Regions from separate parts of the Homo sapiens genome. Here region 1 is linked to region 2. The links are contacts of gene promoters, found by promoter capture Hi-C in human tissues and cell types (Jung and others, 2019). All regions are on one chromosome and are shown on one strand. Each heading gives the region's core, a stretch centred on a gene start or on the middle of the fragment in contact. The rest is flanking DNA. Distances are from core to core; before and after follow the strand shown.

The links. Contacts are between HindIII fragments. The study calls those that stand out against the background at their distance.
Region 1: a contact is called between a fragment that was not itself captured here and the fragment with the promoter of C3orf70 in region 2, in 2 of the 25 tissues and cell types used here (aorta and hippocampus).

What each region holds. Positions count from the first base shown.
Region 1 is chr3:184,982,836-184,988,791 of GRCh38, forward strand. It overlaps VPS8 (VPS8 subunit of CORVET complex), which reads left to right. Exons shown (of 48, transcript NM_001009921.3): 42 at 177-259. Among named protein-coding and RNA genes, the nearest start is that of C3orf70, 170 kb to the right of the region's middle. The HindIII fragment of the contact is 4,374 bases long and covers 601-4,974 here.
Region 2 is chr3:185,149,432-185,155,026 of GRCh38, forward strand. C3orf70 (chromosome 3 open reading frame 70) reads right to left here and starts at 3,629. Exons shown (of 2, transcript NM_001025266.3): 1 at 3,197-3,629. The coding sequence starts at 3,392. RefSeq lists a silencer at 3,035-3,254 and an enhancer at 3,675-3,814. The HindIII fragment of the contact is 5,340 bases long and covers 1,841-5,595 here.

The DNA of each region.
Region 1 (5,956 bases), core at 1,538-4,037, 170 kb before region 2:
TTAAGTAATTGTAGTCTTTGTAACTTGTCAACAGTTAATTTTAAAATATCAAAGAGGCCTTGGTTAGCTAAGTTTCTAAGAAGCTATATAAATGCACTGTTTTTCCACAGACTTATAGGAAAAACTGAAAACTCTTATTTTAAACTAACCTTAATGTTAATATTTTGTTATAACAGCTCTGAAGTCTTTGACCATGCAAGTTTTAAATAGCATGGCAGCATTTATTGCCCTTCCATCAATCTTGCAAAGAATCTTACAGGTGAGTTAAAAGGGGTGAATATTAAATATTGATTTCAACTAACATTTTAGTTATATATAAATAACAGTGAATTGGGCTAATATTTAAATGGATCTCAAGCATAATGCAGCTAATTTTTGGCAATAGCTAAATATCTAAATATCTAACTTCCGACCCTCATTCTTGAATCTTTTCTGTCAGTTTTTTGGTGTGACTTTGCCTGACATAAGCTTGTGACCTTCAGTTAGGGCGTGCGGCCTTCAGATATTCCCTGTTGCCTTGGGATTCAGATATACAAGTTTCCTATTGGTTTGCTAACTGGGAGGGAGTTATCAGCTGATTATAATTTTTAGATTCCAAAAAGATAATCTAAAAATTAATACAGGAATTTCCTAAGCATTGGTTGTTATTTAGGCTTTCTAACTCATCCTAAAATTATTTTTGTCTTGAATACTCATCCTTGACTCTAAATTCTAGCTGGCTTTGTGTCCAAAGCTTTTGTAGGAAGCATTATTTTGGTTTGCTTCTTTCAACAAAAAAGCCTGAACCTTCTCGGCTTCATCAAAAGAGAACACTCAAAATACTCCAAGATATATTTTTAGAAAAAAACCTGTGAGCATTCTTGGGGAAACAACAGGAATTATACTTAGAATCCATTTTGTCTATCCTCACTTTATTCAGTATAGGCATACATGTGCATGCACCCCGCCCCCCTCCCACACACATACAAAGCAAACCGTAATATGATGCCATTAGTCTTTATAATTTTCAAATGATTTTTATTCAATGAAGAATGTTCCTGTCAGCTCTTTTAAGACTCACCAAGCTTGGCCGGGCGTGGTGGCTCACGCCTGTAATCCCAGCACTTTGGGAAGCCGAGGCGGGCGGATCATGAGGTCAGGAGATCGAGACCATCCTGGATAACACGGTGAAACCCCGTCTCTACTAAAAATACAAAAAAATAGCCGGGCATGGTGGCAGGCGCCTGTAGTCCCAGTTACTTGGGAGGCTGAGGCAGGAGAATGGCGTGAACCCGGGAGGCAGAGTTTGCAGTGAGCCGAGATCGAGCCACTGCACTCCGGCCTGGGCAACAGAGCGAGACTCCGTCTCAAAAAAAAAAACTCTACTTCCCATCTGATATTAAGCTTCTGGGGCTTTTCTGATAAAGATGACTACATCCTGTAGTCTTTGTCATTACATGGTATACTATCATTTAGAATACTTTTTTTTTTTTTTTTTGAGACAGTTTCACTCTTGTTGCCCAGGCTGGAGTGCAATGGTGTGATCTTGGCTCACCGCAACCTCCGCCTCCTGGGTTCAAGTGATTCTCTTGCCTCAGCCTCCCGAGTAGCTGGGATTAGAGGCATGTGCCACCACGCCCAGCTGATTTTGTATTTTTAGTAGAGACCGGGTTTCTCCATGTTGGTCAGGCTGGTCTCAAACTCCTGACCTCAGGTGATCCGCCCGCCTCAGCCTCCCAAAGTGCTCGGATTACAGGCATGAGCCACAGCGCCCGGCCAGAACACATTTTTACATGTATTATTTCATTTGATCTTAGCAATTATCATGTGTTGAATAATTCTTTGATATAGACTGCTTCACATATCCATTTTAAAGCTCATTACTTATGAGGTTTCTAATCATGTATAAAGTAATATCTCCATAAGGGCAGGAATACTTTTCCAAGTAAGTTATAAGAAATGAAATCATAAAGCCAAATGGGTTCTCTCTGTGCTATACATTTTGCTTTATATTGAGCTTTAACCACACATTATGATATGTAAATTATAACAAAAACATGTTTTTCTCTTGGCAAAAACATGATTTTTAAAATTTTTTATATTTCAAGACTTTGGAATCTAGAAGTCTCTTGATATTTGAAAATCTTCACTTTATTTTGAGTTATACTGGCATTCATTATAATTTTTTCTTATCATTTTCTATTTTCAATGGTTGTTAACTCCCACTAATCAGGAAGGTATGCTATTTCTTAAATTCCTCATTTGCATGTTTGTGATTACTGTAATTATGCTACCTTATATATGTACAGAGATTTTTATTTTTCAAGGTGCTTTCACAGATATCATTTCATTTGAAGCCCACAACAATCCCTTGAGGTAGGCAGGGCTACTATAAACATTTCTGCTGAAAAAAGAAGAAACTGAAGTATAGAGAAGTTGAGTTCTTAGCCTATCATTAGCAGCAGAACCTGGACCACCCCCTAAGTCTCTCACTTCCTAATTCACGTTCTTTTTTATTATGTCATGTGAGCTTTTTTTATTTGTTTATGTCCCTGGTCTTTTGAGTTCATTATTAATTAAATATATTAATTGTATGTTATGCTGTTTAGATGAAAGGCATAGTTCTGAACCCATAAGAGCTCTTATTTAAGAGACAAAAAATGTGCTGATACAACTATTCATAGGGCTCTATTCAAGTAATAGTGGCCACCTTTAGGATTATCTGCTCTGAATCCATATAGGATAATTGCCATGCCTACATTTCTATACTTAATCTGTGTAAGAGCAGAAGGAGCTGTGGGAAAGTGTGACCCTGCCTCCTGGGTCCAGCTGATTGACTCGGGGTGAGCAAATGGCCTAAACAAGGCCAATCAGTGTGCTTTCCAGGACATTTTGGAACTGAACTTGGAAAAGATCTATAAGTCTCTCGTTAAGTCTCTGGATTACATCAGGTACAAATTTCAGGAACGGACAGTTCCTGTTTTTCCATTATATGGACTGGAAGAGTGAAAAAGCATAATCTGTAGAGAGAAGGAGACGAATGTAGTAGACACTAAGAAGAGACACACAAATGGATACAATGCATAAAGAGGATTCAAGACATAGAGACGAGGAGAGGAGACCATGTGGGGAGAAAAAGCTGATGCACATGAGTCTCTCATTGTGACTCTTAAGACTTACCAGCATTCCTCTTCTTAGATCTGTGAAATACCCTAGCATCTTTACAATAATTAACTTTTTTGAGTAAGTTAGATTGAGTGGTATTTATGGCTATATATGACCAAAGGAGTACCAATAAAAGTATATACCTGAAACAGAGTAGGAAATTTGGAAAGATTTCCTGGAAGAGGAGATGTCTGAGCTGATTCTTAAAAGAGTCTAAGGAAATCAAGGAAAGAAAGGAGGTAGGATTATTCTATATACACAAAGACTTTGAGGTGAAAGCATGGTACTTTTGGAAAGTTACAAGTTTTTTAAGTGTGCTCAGAACATAGGATAAGAATAAAGAAAAATTACAGAGCTGAAATTTGAGAGATAGGCAGGGACTGTGTCTTTAATTGCTTTATAATTCATGATAAGGAGTTTGGATTTTATTCTAAAATCAGTTGTCATCAAGATTTTTAGCAGAGGAATGACTCAGACACAAGGGGAGGGGAGTAAAACACAGGGCTGAAAATGAGGATTTGGGGAAAGTCTGCTGATGGTATTCCCCGTGCTCCTCTTCCCCCTTCCAGCAGCCATCAGACGCACTCACTTCTCATGAAGGAGACAGAGGTTCATTTTCTTGAGACACTGAATGATCTCAGAGGAATAAACCCTAAACAGATTGGATGCTTCAGGTTTTCCTCAAGAAAAAGGCTGGCTAGCTGTCCTGTCACTCTCCATGGAGCTGCATCAGTCAGCAAGCCTCAGTTACACAACCAGGCCTTTCATTGAGGTTTAGTATTTCTATTATTAAGTACTAGAGCAGTATTAGATTTACAGAGAAATTAAACAGAAAATACAGAGAATTCCCTTTTACCCCTTCTCCCTCCCACACTCAGTTTTGCCTACGGTTAACATTTTTGTATTAGTGTGGTATATTTGTTACAATTGGTGAATTAATATTGATATATTATAATTATTAACTAAAGTCCATAGTTTACATTAGCAATCACCCTTTGTGTTGTACAGTTGTATGGGTTTTGACAAATGCATAATGTCCTATATCCACCATTACCATATCATACACTGCTCTAAAAGGCCCCTGTGCTCCACCTATTCATCCTCCTCCCTATGCTAATCCCCTGGCAACCACTAATTTTTTTTCTTTTATTTGAGACAGAGTCTCACTCTGTCACCCAGGCTGGAGTACATTGGCGTGATCTCTGCTCACTGCAACGTCCACCTCCCAGGTTCAAGAGATTCTCATGCGTCAGCCTCCCAAATGGCTGGGATTACAGGCATACACCACCGTGCCCAGCTAATTTTTGTATTTTTAATAGAGATGGGGTCTTGCCATGTTGACCAGGCTGGTCTTGAACTCCTGGCTTCAAGTGATCTGCCCACCTCTGCCTCCCAAAGTGCTGAGATTACAGGTGCGAGTCACCGTGCCCACACTGATTTTTTTTTTTTAACTGTCCCTATAGTTTTACCTCTTCCAGAATGTCATATAGTTGGAATCATAGAGTGCGTAGTCTTTTCATATTGGCTTTTTTCACTTAGCAATATGCACTTAAAGTTCTTCCATTTCTTTTGGGGGCTTGATAGTTCATTTCTTTTTATCTCTGTATATTCCATTGTATGGATGTTCCACAGTTTTGTCTATCCACATACCTATCAAAGAACATCTTGGTTGCCTTCCAGTTCTGAAAATTTTCAGTAAAACAGCTATGAACATTCATATGCAGGCTTTTTGTGTGGACTTAAGTTTTAGACTCATTTGGGTAAATACCTAGGAATGTGATTGCTGGATTATATAAGACTATGCTTACTTTTGTAAGAAACTGCCAAACTCTGCTCCAAAATGTCTATACCATTTTACATTTCCGCCAGCGCTGAATGAAAGTTCCTGTTGCTCCATATCTTAGCAGCATGTGGTATTGTCAGTGTTTTGGATTTTAGACATTCTAGTAGACGTGTAGTAGTCTCATCATTGTTTTAATTTGTAGTTCTCTTACAACATGTGATATTGAGCTTTTACGTGCTTTTTGAAGTGTTTGTTTTCTTGTTGTTGGGTTTTAAGGATTCTTTGTATATTTTGGATAAGGTTCTTTATCACATGCGTGTTTTTGCAAATATTTTCTCCCACTCTGTGGCTGGTCTTTTTATTCTCTTAACAGTGTGTTTCACACAGCAGAAGTGTTTGCTTTTAATGAAGTCTAGTTTATTGACTTTTTCTTCCATGGAATATGCTTTTGATGTTGTATGTAAAAACTCATCACCAAACTCAAGGTTACCCAGATTTTTCTCATTTGTTTTTTCCTAAAAGTTTTGTATTTTTGCATTTTACACTTAGAGCTATGATCCATTTTGTGTTAATTTTGGGGGAAAATATATGGTCAGTGTTGATTCATTTTTCTGCATGTGAATATACACAGTTGGAACTAGTTCCAACACTGCTTGTTGAAAGGACTGTCCCTTTCTCCATTGAATTGCCTTTGCTTAGTTTACCATATTCATATGGGTCTATTTCTGGGTTTTCTGTTCTTTTACAATGATCTATTTTCTATTCCTTCACCAATACCAACACTGTCTTGATTAGTTTTATAGTAGGTCTTAAAGTCAGGGAGTGACAATCATCCAACTTTGCTCTTCTTCATTATTGTGTTGGCCATTCCTTGTCTTTTGCCTCTCTGCTTTAAACTTCAGAAACGGTTTGTTGATATCTACAAAGTAACTTGCTGGAATTTTGATTAGGAATACATTGAACTTATAGATCAAATGAAGAACTAACATTATAACAATATCAAATCTTTCTGTTCATGAACATGAAATA
Region 2 (5,595 bases), core at 2,379-4,878:
GTGTCCTTAGACTCTGCATATAGGGTCCATAATGGTCCATATGGGGTCCAGTGTGGTCCAGCTGTATTCATATTTTTATTCTGAGTTTCCAAAATAATGTCTCATAAAGAGAAGGTGTTCAATATATGTTCAACAGAATTAAAGGAATTCTGCTTAGGACTGATACTGTAAACTCCATGAATACCAAAAAGAAAGGAGAACTTCTCAAACATGTTAACTCTGCTTATTTTGGGCTAAAAAGCATAGAGAGAATTAATTCCCAGGATAACTGAGGAGATTGTAACAGAGCACCTAGCTGCTTTAAATGAAGTCAAGCTTTTAGTGAATGGGATCACTGAGCTGCTGCCAGTGGAGGAAGTGTGGAGAACCGGAGGACTGCCAAAGACTGGAAAAGAACAAATAACTGTAGTCCTGATTTTTTAAAAAACAGAAACAACTGCCAACGACAGTCCAGTATACTTGACGTCAATCCTTTTCTAAATTCAGATTATTTATTTTAAAACAGTTTCTAACCATTTAGAAAAGAAAATGGTAACCATTTGTGGAATCAACCTGAGTTTTACCAGATTAACCTAATTTCTTGTTTTTTTTTAAAAAAAGAGTGTATGTACAGATAGGTCACAGATCAAAAAGAGGCAGTAAAAACAGTGTGTTGGTAGGATTTCAATAAGGTATTTGACCAGGTTTTCATTACACCCATATACAAGATAAATATAAGATGGATAACAGTGCAACTAGGTGGCTAGGTAATTGTTTGAACAATCATAACTAACAAGTGCTCATTAATGAATTGCTATCAACCTGAAGGGCAGTTCTACCCGCAAGCTTCAGGACTCTATCTGTGGCTTTCTCTTGTTCAACAATTTTATCAGTAACTTTTATGAACATGTACTGTACTACTGTTGGTATCCAGTATGTGGATGACATGAACCTAGGACAAACAGCTTATAAATATATTAAGAAAGAGCCAGGATCTAAAAACACACACACACAAAATTAGGCTCATTCTAATGAAATGAAATTTAATAGGAAAAGATATCTAAGGGATCAGTACCTGTGTCCAAAAATATAAGTGTGAGATGGGCAAACAGTGGCTTGTCACATATGTTAAAAAAAAACAAAACAGCTCAATGGCTTTGATGGCAAGCTTAGTTCAATCTGACAGCAGCAAGCTCAGTATGTGATGAAGATATCAGAAAAGCTAATGTGATGCTAGCTGCAGCAATAGCAGTATCTCGAACATGGGAGGTAGTGGTCTTGTTCAACTCTAGACTGATCAGACCACAACTGGAATATTGTCTACCTTTCTAGGGGCCACAGTCTTCAAAGGATCAAAACCACCTTGGCACATGTTCAGAAGAGAACAACCAAGATGCTTAGGAGCCTGAATACTATTCCATAAAAGGAAAGGCAGAAGGGACTGGAAATGTATAAATAGGACAAAGAAATGCCTTAAGAGAAAGATGATCACTAGCTTCATTCAGTCATTCAATGAACATTATTGTTAAACCTATTTCAGGAAAGACATTGTGAGAATGGCCAGGGATACAGAGAGAAGACAGTCCATATGTGCAAGACATTCATATGTATATTCAGCAATGTATATATGAAGAGTTGAAACAGCCATGATCTAAAAAAGGATTCAATTGTTCTATATGATTTCATAAGGCAGAAATAGGAGCAGAAGAAAGAAGTTAGAAAGTAACTGATTTCAGCTCCATATAAGGAAGAGTATTTTAAGAGTCAAGGCTAATGAAGGGAGAAGCTGTCTGAGAAAACTGCAAGGTTCCCATCAGTAACGGTGTACTTAGAGAAGACACTGTCAAAATAAGACAGACAGTAACCTGGACTATCTTGAACATTCCTCACATTTTACACAACGATTCTATACTTTCCCACGAAATGAATGAAAGTCCAGATTCTACTTGTGCACTTCAGCATCCCAGGTTTCCTAGAGTTGCTACTTCCAACTCGGTACCCTGTCCCACCGTGAAGCAATGCTTTATACTAACAAAAGAGAACAGATCTGAGCACAACAGGAATAATGAGAAATAGGAAGAAACTGGCCCATAAGCAAATGGAACACCAGAAATCAATACTGTTCTATGTGCCTGGAATTTGTAAAGAAAATGATCCTCTATCCTTGAATTCATAAATTCGATTTAAAATATTCATTTATGTTCGATTAATGTAAATAAGGATTTGTTATGTACTGCATTCCTGGTTGTCAGCTATTTTTTTCTCAACAAAGAAAAATTCATTTTAACTTAAGATCACTTGGAAAATGTCCTAAATAAGCACTCCAAAACCCTCTATTACAAATATATGTGGAAACTAACTTTAGAATATATTTCTTAAAATGAATGATTCATCGGATATAGTCCAAATACTATTAGCTAATCAAATTGTGAAATTCTAATTAAATGGCTACTTAAGTTTAATCTATTTAAAAATCACAGGCAGGAGGCTAAACACAGAGAAAGGGTTTAGACCATTTGGTTCTAGCTTTTATAAATTGGTTTAAGACTATTAAGCTTACTTTCACTCATTTTATTTTGTAATTTTATAAGTCTCATTTATTTGGCTCTAAATTCTACATCTGGGTATTTAAGGAGCTCGACCTTCCAAACTGTTAATATTAACTTCTTGGAAGCAATCCCTCCCACATTAGCGCTTTTTCTCAATTTGGGTACAATCAAGGGGGAAACAATTGGATATCCAAGGGCTCCTTCTTTTAAATAGCAGCCCAGGAAGACAAAAGTGAGAAAGAAAAAGAGGAGCATCTTTAACCAGCAACCTTGAAAAAAGGCATCCCCAACAGCTGTCGCCAACTCAGCTGGCTCGCTCCCATTTCTCAAAACACCGCCTGGACGCCTTGGTCAAAAAAAGAAAAAGAAAAGAAAAAAAACCAGATTCCCGCTTCCCTGGGACAGGGAGCTCCCTTTTGTAGAAGTAGCTAAAGAAAGCGAGGCGCCCCACGGGATTTCATCTCGTCGTCAAGGCAGCGCCAACCCCAGCCGTCCGGCGCAAGGAAAGCTCCGGCGGGCCCGGAGCCCACGGCGGCCCCAGCCTCCGGCAGAGCAGCCCCGGCAGAGCCCGGAGCCCCGCGGCCGCAGAGTTCCGGCAGCGACCCCGGACGGCCCGGCGGGCGTCCCCCGGACCGCGGCGGAAGGCGGGAAGACGCGGCTCGACTTACAGTGACACCATCCTAGGTGACAGCACCAGTGCAGCTTGAAGCACTTGCCATGGCTGTGCGTGGCACAGATAGACAGCCCGTCGCACGGCTGGAAGTCGGGTCTGCGGGCGGCGCAACTCCGCGCCAGGGCCTGAGCCTCATCTAGTTTCTCGCTCTTCCAACCCCGCTCCGACGCCGGCGAGGCCGCCGCACTCATTTCCTCTCCCTCCGCGCGGAGCCGACACCGGGAGCCCGGGAGAAGCGACGTCTGGGTGGGCAGGAAGCCGAGCCGGCTGCGGACGCGGGAGGGCGCGGCACGGGCCGGGAGTCACGCCAGCACGCGGCGGCGGCGGGAGCGCGGCGGTCCCAGGCTCGAGGAGGAGCCGCCCCGGGCGCTGCGACCGGGTCCGGGCTGGCAGCCTCCCTCCCTCCGGCGCGGCGCGCGCCGCGCCCCACGCGCACACGCACGCGCACAGGCGCGCGCCGGTCGGCCCCGCGCGACGTTCCTCAGCGAGCCCGGCCTTCTCACACACACGCCGCTGGGGAGCTTGGCCGTCGGCGTCCCCGCCGGTCACAGCGAGGTCCTCCTCACATACTCACTCCTTCCTCGGAGAAAGACCCCGACGGAGGGCCGTGGTGAACACACACTCCTCGGCCGCTTTGTACTCACATGCACGCCAGCCTACATATGCACTTCCCCCCGAGTGACACTGGCCACCGAGAACTGACACACGCGTCCACACGCTCCACGGAGGGCTGCGCACACCTGGCCCACGCCCACCCGAACCTCCTAGTGGCCCGGGCCGGGTGCATCGCGTAGCGAGGATCTCACACACACAGCCTGTCCCCACAGGCGTCTCACATCTCCCTCGTACACACCTCCCCGTGTCTGGGCATGGAGCCCCTGGGAGGCGCGCACACGCTCGTGCACACGCGCGCACTCCCCCCACCCAGGGCGGGCCTCCTGCCCCAGCGCGGCCACAGGGCGCGTCAGGGGCCAGCACCGCCAACCCCTGCCCGCCTCGCCCCAAACCCCAGGCCAGTGCGCCCGGGCCTTCCCGCGCCCGCCCCAACCTTCGCCGGGACCGCAGCCCCTCCCCCTTCTCCTCCCACCCCCGCCTCCGTTGAGCGGGAAAGCAACAAAGCTGGGTGCATTGATGTGTGTGTGTGTCTGCGTATGTGTAGTTTGGTGTGCATGGGATGTGTGTGTTGCGTGCGTGTGTATGATTATTTGGAGTATGTATGGTGGGTATGCGTGTGTGGTTGTGTGTGGTTAGGTGTGTTCATGGTACATGGTGGGTGGTATGCGTGATGCAAGTGACTGGTGAGGTGTGTGTATACGTGTGTATGTGAAATGAATGTTATAACTGAGGTGGAGTGTGGGTGGTGTGTGTGTGGTTGAGTGTGTGTGGCGTGCAGAATATGTATATGTGTGTAGTTGGACGTGCATGTGCTTGTGCACGTGTTGTGGGGGTGGGTATGCTTAGTAATACAGAGTGGTGTGTGTATGGTATATGTGTGGCAGTGCAGTGCGTGTATCTGGCATGTCGAGTGTGCACATGGCATATACGGATCAAATCGGGTGTGTGTGGTACATAGGAGTGGGTGGGCACACAAACAGGACTCATGTATGCGGAGGACTCTGCCTTTCTGTGTTAGCGCCTGCTCTGGCCAGCAGGTGTGACTGACCCTGTGGTGGCTGCGGCTTCCCCACACAGTTGGCTCGCACTCTTCCCTCCTGGGGACAAGTTGCTCCAAATAGATTTTCCATGCCAGGCTCTGCTGCTGAGAACCGACCCCAGGCTGGATTCACTGAAGAGGAAACAAACCATTTGCTCCCATGGTGCACTGCTGGGAATTAGTGTTTCCCTGCAACAAGGCCAGAACCCAGCCTTGAACACAGAAGAGGAGGGGACACCCCCTCCTTATTTGCCAAACGCACAGAAGAATGCTTGTTCAAGGAACAAGGCTTTCAGCACAAACACTGTGTGGGAACATGTTTATGCCCAGGTCCACTTTCTCCTTTATGCCTTTCCTGCTTTGCACTGACAAGAGACTCATCATGGTTTTGAAACAACCAAATTCATCCTCAAGCTTGAAAATCCTTGCTGCCATAAGCAATCTTTCATAATTTTCCCTTTTATGTAACCTTGGCTTGAGAAGGGAAATGTAATTTGCATATATCTGACTCTGGTGAAATCTTCATTTATTAGGGATTGGGGAGAGACTCAATTTGGCAGCAAAAGTATTTTCCAGAAAGGTCTGAATCAAAATCACAAACTCTAGTTCCCCCATTAACCTAACATTGAAACAGTTGCAAACATGAAGAATCATCTCATCAGCTTCCACCCCAACTGCTCCCCGCCTCAAAAAAATCCTAAAGGAATACATCTCTGACACAAAATCTATGCACCCCTGCT